Regions from separate parts of the Homo sapiens genome. Here region 1 is linked to region 2. Evidence: promoter capture Hi-C in 16 types of primary human blood cells and fetal thymus (Javierre and others, 2016). All regions are on one chromosome and are shown on one strand. Each heading gives the region's core, a stretch centred on a gene start or on the middle of the fragment in contact. The rest is flanking DNA. Distances are from core to core; before and after follow the strand shown. Region 1 holds the start of CXorf65 (chromosome X open reading frame 65). Region 2 has its middle 68 kb from the start of SNX12.

Region 1 (3,572 bases), core at 1,066-3,565, 110 kb after region 2:
CCTGCACCTCTGAGAACTAGAGACCTTACCCTTCCTGATGCTCCCATTCATTGTTCAAACCATCAGCTGGAGCCCCACTTGGCCTAAGATGGAAATGATGGAATGGTGACAGGGAGATATACGGAGAAGATGGCCAAGAAATGGGGGAAGTGGGGAGTAACGCATGCACATTCCACCTGGTGTGAGCTAAACGTCCCTCCTAAAGTGGACCTGGACCCTGCCCGCCTTTTCCTAGGCTCCTATCATCTGACCTACCATATCACGCTAGTCCCACCCTACATTCTCCATCACACAGCTATATACTGTACCCTTCATGTTCTTCCCTCCCCCATCTCACTTCTTACCAAGCAGCCAAGGCTCCGGATTCTTGAGGAGAGGCACAAAAGCTCTGTAAGCATTCTCCAGCCTGGTTCCTGTGAACATAGCCATGTGCTATCTCCAGCCCCTGTCATCCAGTCTCCACCCTTCAGAAGTCCAAGATTCCAGGACCTAACACTAAAGACTACCCGCCAGATGCGGTGGCTCACGCCTGTAATCCCAGCATTTTGGGAGGCCAAGGTGGGCGGATCACTTGAGGTCAGGAGTTCCAGACTAGCCTGGCCAATTCGAGACTAGCCTGGCCAATTTGGTGAAACCCCATCTCTACCAAAAATACAAACAAACAAAAAAAATTAGCTGGGCATGGTGGTGGGCGCCTGTAATCCCAGCTACTCCGGAGGCTGAGGCAGGAGAATCACTTGAACCCAGGAGGCAGAGGTTGCAGTGAGCCAAGATCATGCCACTGTTTCAGCCTGGGTGACAGAGCAAGACTCCATCACAAAAAATAAAATAAATAAATAAATAAAAATAAAGACTACCTTGCCGGGCACAGTGGCTCACGCCTGTAATCCCAGCACTTTGGGAGGCTGAGGTGGGTGGATCACCTGAGGTCAGGAGTTCAAGACCAGCTTGGCCAACATGGTGAAACCCCATCTGCACTAAAAAATTAGTTGGGCCTGGTGGCGGGTGCCTGTAGTCCCAGCTACTCAGGAGGCTAAGACAGGAGAATCGCTTGAACCTGGGAGGCAGAGGTTGCAGTGAGCTGAGATCGCGCCATTGCACTCCAGCCTGGACAACTGGACAACAAGAGCGAAACTCTGTCCCAAAAAAAAAAAAAAAAAAACCTACCTTGAGCTGGTGGATATTTCTTCCCCTTAGGTATGGACCTAGGGGAGAGTATGTGTGAGGTAACCTATTATTATAGAGGCAGTACCCTTCCTTAGGCTGACTAGAGATGGTCAATTTGGATCTGGTTGAGGGTGTTCTGTTGTTTGAGGGTGTTCTGTTTTTTGTTTTAATTTGGTTTTGGTTGTTTTTGGTTTTGGTTTTGGTTTTGGAGGCAGGCTCTTGTTATGTTGCCCAGGCTGGTCTCAAACTCCTGCCCTCTATCGATTCTCCCGCCTTGGCCTCTCAAAGTGCTGAGATTACAAGCATGAGCCACTATGCCCAGCCTTGGATGCCTTGTTTTAAAGATAAGGTTCATAATCTATCTTGAAGGCCTTATTCTATTTCTGGGGAACACTCCTGAGCCTCTACCTGGTGGCCCACGTTCCACCTTACAAACGTAGTAGGTGCTTCGAGCTGTAAGGTATTTGCTGGCATACTCTGCATGATTGGGCTTCATCAGGAAAAGCATCTTCATTTTCCCCGTTTGTTCACACAAATCGATGGTGTCTGGAGGGAGATCACAGGGTAATTGGGGCAGCTAAGGAAAGAGAGTGGGAGCAAAAGGGGCCAGTGATCCTATACAAAATGGGTTGGAGGAAGCTCTAAGGATATGAGGAACTCCCTTCTTGCCAGGAGGAGGGCTTGGGGGTTAGAGATGACCCAACTCCTTCTGACCTTTGGCCATTAGTCCCCTCCCTAAGCTCCTCACTTGTTTTAGGCAACTTTACTTTACTGCGGATGTAATACAGCAACACGACGACAGCACAGTTGGTATTGACCAGAAACTGCTGATTATCTGAGAAGAGATAGGATGGGACACATGGGCCCATTTCTGTGATCTCCACTGCCCTCAGATCCCTCCACCCCCATCCACAGACTCTAGTTCTGTGCTGCCCCTCACCTCCATGTTTGATGAAGATGAACATGCCCTCAAGATCGCCTCACTCTTCACAAAGTGCCCTGATGAGTCATGCAGAAGGAGGGTGTTCTAGAGGCCTTGTGTGGGGCAAATAGGCCTATAGGGTTGGTGGACTAGAGAGGCAGATGGATTTCATAGGCTGAGGATGCCCAGGCTGGACAGGCAGGAGAGAGCTGTTGATAGTTGTGGATAACCAGTATCCCCAGGGGTGGGGCCTGAGACTGCAGTTAAGGGATTATGAGGTCAGAAGTGGCAGGTGTGGCCAAAAAGTGGAGTAAGGGTAAGGAGAGAAAAACTTGGGTGGGGTATGTTAAAGATTAGTTGGAAAGGGGGGACAACATGGTAAGTCTAACTTTTTTTATTTTTTTTATTTTTTTAGATGGAGTCTCCCTCTGTCGCCCAGGCTGGAGTGCAGTGGCACAATCTTGGCTCACTGCATCCTCTACCTCCTGGGTTCAAGCGATTCTCCTGCCTCAGCCTCCCAAGTAGCTGGAATTACAGGAGCACACCATCACGCCTGGCTAATTTTTGTATTTTTAGTAGAGACGGGGTTTCACCATGTTGGCCAGGCTGGTCTCGATCTCCTGACCTCGTGATCCACCCGCTTTGGCCTCCCAAAGTGCTGGGATTACAGGCGTGAGCCACCACGCCCAGCCCATTGTAAGTCTAACTCTAAACTAAACCCTGGAATGAGTGCAGGGCACCTGGAAAAAAGTCAGTTTCCAGAACAGTACTCTTTCTAGCAAATTGGTAATACTCCTGCCTCCACAGCATGAATGTACTACTCCTTTTTCTTCCCCTCCCACCCTCATTGCATCCCAGGCTTCCCCTGCTCCCCACCCCCATGACAGACATTTTTGATGATTATCAACAGAAACTTTATTTCTCATCGGTTCAGGAACAATCGGAGGGTAGATGGAAAGAGGAAGGGAGGGAAAGAGGGAGGGAGGAAGAATCCTGCGAAAAGGAAGGGCCAGACTGAGGGAGAAGAAAAACATGTTCGGGGCAAAAGGGTAATTCTCAAGTGGGGAATGCCAAATGAAGGGGTGCTTACATGGGGGCACAAAATTCCAAATCAGCCACAGTGGGGTGAGGTGAGTATGAGACGCAGGTGGGTTGAATGAAGGAAAGTTAGTACCACTTAGGGCTACAGGACCCTGGGGTTCTTCTGTCAGAGGATTGGGGTTCAGGTTTCAGGCTTTAGGGTGTAACATGGGGGGGCCCAGTAGGGGCTATGCTGGTTGCATGGGGAGGCCCCAGGCCCCTCCCCAAGGGCCCCTCCTTTTGGGGGAATCTCACTGACGAGGCAGAGTCGTTCACTGTAGTCTGGCTGCAGACTCTCAGCCAGTCCCTTAGACACACCACTCCAGGCCTAAAGACAGATATGTCCAGGTCAGGGGTCAATTAGGGGCAGGAAGTAAAAGACCGAGCTCTGTGCCAAAGGAGT
Region 2 (5,716 bases), core at 1,500-3,999:
TCTTTCTTTTCTCTTGCTGCTTTTGGTATCTTTTATTTTTATTTTATTATTATTATTTTTTGAGGCAGAGGCTCCCTCTGTCACCCAGACAGAGGGAGTGCAGTGGCACAGTCTCAGCTCACTGCAACCTCCACCTCCCAGGTTCTAGCAATTCTCATGCTTCAGCCTCCTGAATAGCTGGGACTGCAGGGGGAGGGCACCATGCCTGGCTAATATTTTTTTTAATTTTTAGTAGAGACAGGGTTTCACCATGTTAGCCAGGCTGGTCTCGAACTCCTGGCCTCAAGTGACCCACCCACCTTGGCCTCCCAGAGTGTTGGGATTACAGGCATGAGCCACTGTGCCCAGCCTGGATCCTTTCTTATTCTTGACCTTCGGAAGTTTGATTATTAAATCATAGTCTTATTTCAGTTCAATCTACTTGCTGTTCTATAACTCTCTTGAATTCAAGTATTGATAACTTTCTCTAGGTTTGGGAAGTTCTCTGTTATTGTCCCTTTAAATAAACTTTCCACCCCTATCTCTCTCTCCCATCTCTTTATGGCCAATAACTCTTAGACTTGCCCTTTTGAGGCTATTTTCTAGATCTTGTAAGAGTGCTTCATTCTTTTTTATTATTTTTTCTTTGGTCTCCTCTGACTGTGGGTTTTTTTTTCCAAGGTCTTGCTCTTTCACCCAGGCTGTCGTGCAGTGGCACAATCATAGCTCATTGCAGCCTTGAACTCCTAGATTCAAGTGATCCTCCTGCCTCAGCCTCCTGAGTAGCTAAGACTACAGGCACACATGCCACCATACCCAGCTAATTAAAAAAAAATTTTTTATAGAAATGATGCCTTGTTATGTTGCCCAGGCTGGTCTTAAACTCCTGGGCTCAAGTGATCCTCCTGCTTCAGCCTCCCGAAGTGCTGGGATTACAGACATAAGCTACTATGCCTGGCCATGTATTTTCAAATGGCCTGTCTTCAAGCTCATTAATTCTTTCTTCTGCTTGATCAATTCTGCAATTAAGAAACTCTGATTCATTCTTCAGTGTGTCAATTACATTTTTTAACACCAGAATTTCTGCTTGATACTTTTTAATTATTTAAATCTCTGTGTTAAATTTATCTGATAGGATTCTGAATTCCTTATCTGTGTTATCTTGAATTTTCTTGAGTTTCTTCAAAACAGCTATTTCAAATTCTCTGTCCGAAAGATCACATATCTCTGTCTCTCCAGGCTTGGTCCTTGGTGCCTTATTTAGTTCATTTGGGAAGATCATGTTTTCCTAAATGGTCTTCGTGCTTGTGCATGTTCGTCAGTGTCTAAGTATTGAAATGTTAGGTGTTTAGTAGTCTTTGTAGTCTGGGCTTGTTCATACCCGTCCTTCTTGGGAAACTTTCCAGGTATTCGAAGGGACTTTGGGTGTTGTGATCTAAGTTTTTGGTCACTGTAGTCACATCTACGTTAGGGGGCACCCCAAGCTCAGTAACACTGTGGCTCTTGCAGACTCATTGAGGTACTGCCTTGGTGGTCTTGGATCAGATCCGAAAGAATTCTCTGGATTACCAGACAGAAACTTTTTTTCTCTGCCCTTACTTTTACCCAAACAAACAGAGTCTCTCTCTCTCTCTCTCTTCTCTCTCTCTCTCTCTCTCTCTCTCTGTCTCTGTGCCGAGATGCCTGCAGCTGAGGGAGGGCAGAAATGCTTTTTTAAGTTACCACCCAGTTCTAAAGTTGCACTTTGATTAACTTGGTTATTTCCTATGTTTTCATTAGCAACACAGTTGTAAACCACTTCTCCACATAGTTAATCTCATCTCTTAAATGACAGTTATTATTAAAATTTCAATGAGTAATTCTTTTTCTGAGTTCTTAGTTTCCTATATACTTATTACAGCATTAATCATGTTACCTGACAATACCTACTCACTAATCAATTCCCAGTGAGAATTGTTAGACACTTATATCCAGTAGCAAGAAAGAAAAAAATTAAAATCCTTAAGACAAATAGTTAGGGATATGCTTTCAAATCTGGGATGTACAGTAATTGAAAGTGTGAGCCTCCTTGGCAACTCCCAGAGGACATACATTAACAGTAATCAATCCACTGTGTGGCTTGTTACATAAGTACTATAGAAGCCTTGGGAACATTTGGAATCTGACAGAAGCCTTATGGAAGTGGTTCCATGGGGGTTGGCTATTTGCATATTTTCCTCCTATTACAGATAAGGGAAAAAAGACTGAAAGAATATATACCAAAATGTTAATATTGATTATTCCTGGGGAGTAGGGCTGCCAGTTTTCTTTTATTTTTTATCTGTATTATCTAAAATTTCTAAAATAAATATAACTATTATAAGAAAATTCCAAATAATAAAAGTCCAAAAAGATGGTTTGTTTTAACAGTAAGTAAGCTGAGTTGCATTTTCTACCATCTGTTTCAGTCAGGGAAATGAATAACATCTTCTAGGGCAAAGTAACAGGGTAAATGGAGACCCAGAGAAAGACTGATTGTTCTCTATGATAAGCATTCTCTAGAACATAAAAGGAAGTAATGAACAGGACTCCAAGCTTTGTTCTTTTGTGTCTCACTCCCTCTCGATTCTTCTCTGGCTTTGTTCCACACTCTGAACATCCTAAATCAACTTACAAGTGGTGGTCACCAAAAGAATCTACAAGGAAGATTGTCTCTCTAGACTCTGATTCCATCAAATATCCCCTTTCTCTTCTATTTTCCACATTTTCTTATATACCTACAGACAGGCTTAACGTTTCCCCATTCTAAAACAAAGTTAAAACACTATTTCTCCCCTATCTCGTTACAAACTACCATCCTTTCTACCTCCTTCCTTTCATAGCCAGATTTCTGGAACAATTAATCTACAACCACTGTCCTTTCGCCCTGTCCATTTGTTCAATTTGCTGCAGTCTGCCTTCTGCCGTGACTCCAACAAACTTTAAAGGAAAGCTTCCTAGTTGCTGAACTTATTGGCCCATATTTATACAGCCTAAGGCGATTGGTTGCTCTTATTTCCCAGAAGTTCTTCTTGGCCTCTGGGAAGAAAGGAGTGAAATGGGAAGAAATGACACTACTGTCTCTTCATTTTTTTTTCTTACCTTTCCCTTTCAGACTTCCCTCTTCTGTTCAACACTTATTCATTGGGATTCCCTAGGGTTATGTCCTAGTCTCTTATCTTCTTACACCACCTGGAACAAAGTTTATCTACTTACACAGCTTCAACTATCATCTATACAATGACAGATTGCAAAATTTTTTTTACAGTTAAATCTAAGTTGCTTTATTCTTTTTTTTTTTTATATATATACTTTAAGTTTTAGGGTACATGTGCACAATGTGCAGGTTAGTTACATATGTATACATGTGCCATGCTGGTGTGCTGCACCCATTAACTCGTCATTTAACATTAGGTATATCTCCTAATGCTATCCCTCCCCTCTCCCCCGACCCCACAACAGTCCCCAGAGTGTGATGTTCCCCTTCCTGTGTCCATGTGTTCTCATTGTTCAATTCCCATCTATGAGTGAGAACATGCAGTGTTTGGTTTTTTGTCCTTGCGATAGTTTACTGAGAATGATGATTTCCAATTTCATCCATGGAAATTTTTAATAATAGCCTCGAACTCTTGCTTAAGCTCTAGATTTGTATTTCCAAATTACAATTAAGCATCTTTACCTACAGGTTACAAAGAGGTACCCTAAGCTCCACTAGTCTAAAATCAGACTTACCTTCTCTACTGCCACAATTTACTAAATTCTTGAATTACATTCTCATTCACAATCGCAAGCCATGTTCCTAAGCTAGAAGCTTTTGCTTTTGCCTTAATTATCCCTTCTCCCTAACGCTGCACATCTAATCAATCAGCATACAGTCCTGTTGATTTTAACTCATAAATATCATTCTGTCAAGCCTAGCCTTTCCCCCATACTGCCTCGATCTTGGTTCAGACTCTCATAATGTCCAGCTTGGACTATTACGTCTGCTAAGTAGTCCTGCCACCAATCTCTCTCCATTCTACACCTGTTCAACTTCCACACTACTTTCGAAATGATCTTTACAAAACAAAACTCACTCTTTTGACTCCTCGGTGCCTACAGGATAAAACACAACTCCTTGGTCTAGCATGTTAGGATTCAGTCCAGGTTGTTAGCCTCACGCTCTACTCCACCCCCAAACTCCTGCATGCTAAGCTTCTCACCATTCCACAAACACAGCAGGCCCTATAATGTCTCCATGTCTTCACACATTGTATCCTGTCCTCTTAGAATGTCCTTTTCTTTCTTCCTCACCTGACAATGTCCTACTCATCCTTTAGTATGTGTCTTCTTGGGAAAGACAAACTAGCTATTATTTATCAAGGAGTTTTGCTAAACAATTTATGTTCATTAGCTTATTTTAATCCTCAATCAATTCTATAACTACTATTATCATTTTACAGATGAAAAAGCTGAGATTTAAAGGGGCTAAATAGCATTGTCATCTAGTAAATGGTGGGATTTAAATATAGGTCTTCAAAACCTGAACTTTTAACCACTATGCTACAGGCAATGTGTATTAAACATAGTTGATTGTTCTGTTCTCTGTGTTCCCATAGCACTCTGTTCACCACTCTGCAATGGCAGTTACCACACTAGAATGTAATATTTCTGTTTACACAATATCATCCCCCACTAGATGTAAGATACATGGTGATAGAAATAAAATATTGCAGCCGGGCATGGTGGTGTGTGCCTGTAGTCCCAGCTACTCGGGAGGCTGAGGTGGGAGGACTGCTTGAGCCTAGGAGTTCGAGTCTGTAGTGAGCTATGATGGTGCCCCTGCACTCCAGCCTGGGCAATAAGAGTGAGATTGGTCTCAAAAGAAAGAAAGAGAGGAAGGAAGGAAGGAAGGAAGGAAGGGAGGGAGGGAGGGAGGGAGGGAGGGAGGGAGGGAAGAAAGAAAGAAAGAAAAGAAGGAAGGAAAGAAGGAAGGAAGAAAGAAAGAAAAGAAGGAAGGAAAGAAGGAAGGAAGGAAAAGAAAGAAGAAAGGAAGAAAGAAAGAAAGAAAGAAAAGAAAGACTTAACCAATCTTTGTATCTCAGTGTGTTTAGCACATTATAAGTGCTCAATAAATGTTCACTATATAAATGAATTTTGAAACTTCTCTTTGGCAGTAAGTAGCCTTTTGTTTGTTGCCTTGCTTTTTCTTCTTCTGACTGTGTCTGACATGGTTGGGCTGTGTCCTCATCCAAATCTCATCTTGAATTGTAGTTCCCATAATCCCCATATGTCCTGGGAGAGACCAGGTGGAGATAATTGAATCGGGGGGACGGTTTCCCCCATCCTGTTCTCATGATGGTGAGTGAGTTCTCATGAGATCTGATGGTTTTATAAGGGGCTTTTTCCCACCTTTGCTCTGAACTTCTGCTTGCTGCTACCATGTGAAGAAGGACTTGTTTGCTTCCCCCTCCACTATGATTGTAAGTTTCCTGAGGCCTCCCCAGCCATGCTGAACTGTGAGTCCATTAAACTTTTTTCCTTTATAAATTACCTAGTCTCAGGTATGTCTTTATAAGCAGCATGAGAACGGACTAAGACAGTGTCCTTTCATTATTCATTCAACTATGAGCAGTAAATGCTGGCAATTTTTTAAAATTGTGTTTCAGGCTTTGTTATTATTTATATTGCCTTACTACTTACATAGTAACTTTACTATCTTACATTATTAATATACAGG

What was found. The method cuts DNA at HindIII sites, captures the fragments that hold promoters and counts their contacts. A CHiCAGO score of 5 or more calls a contact.
Region 1: the fragment with the promoter of CXorf65 here is called in contact with a fragment that was not itself captured in region 2 in 4 of 17 cell types (megakaryocytes, M1 macrophages, total B cells and 1 more); the score reaches 9.2 in megakaryocytes.

Annotation. Positions count from the first base shown.
Region 1 is chrX:71,104,425-71,107,996 of GRCh38, forward strand. CXorf65 (chromosome X open reading frame 65) reads right to left here and starts at 2,316. Exons shown (of 6, transcript NM_001025265.3): 1 at 2,108-2,316; 2 at 1,916-2,002; 3 at 1,576-1,713; 4 at 345-413. The coding sequence starts at 2,132. IL2RG (interleukin 2 receptor subunit gamma) reads right to left here. Exons shown (of 8, transcript NM_000206.3): 8 at 2,980-3,497. The coding sequence ends at 3,312. The HindIII fragment of the contact is 6,290 bases long and covers 1-3,572 here.
Region 2 is chrX:70,997,207-71,002,922 of GRCh38, forward strand. No RefSeq gene overlaps it. Among named protein-coding and RNA genes, the nearest start is that of SNX12, 68 kb to the right of the region's middle. The HindIII fragment of the contact is 397 bases long and covers 2,552-2,948 here.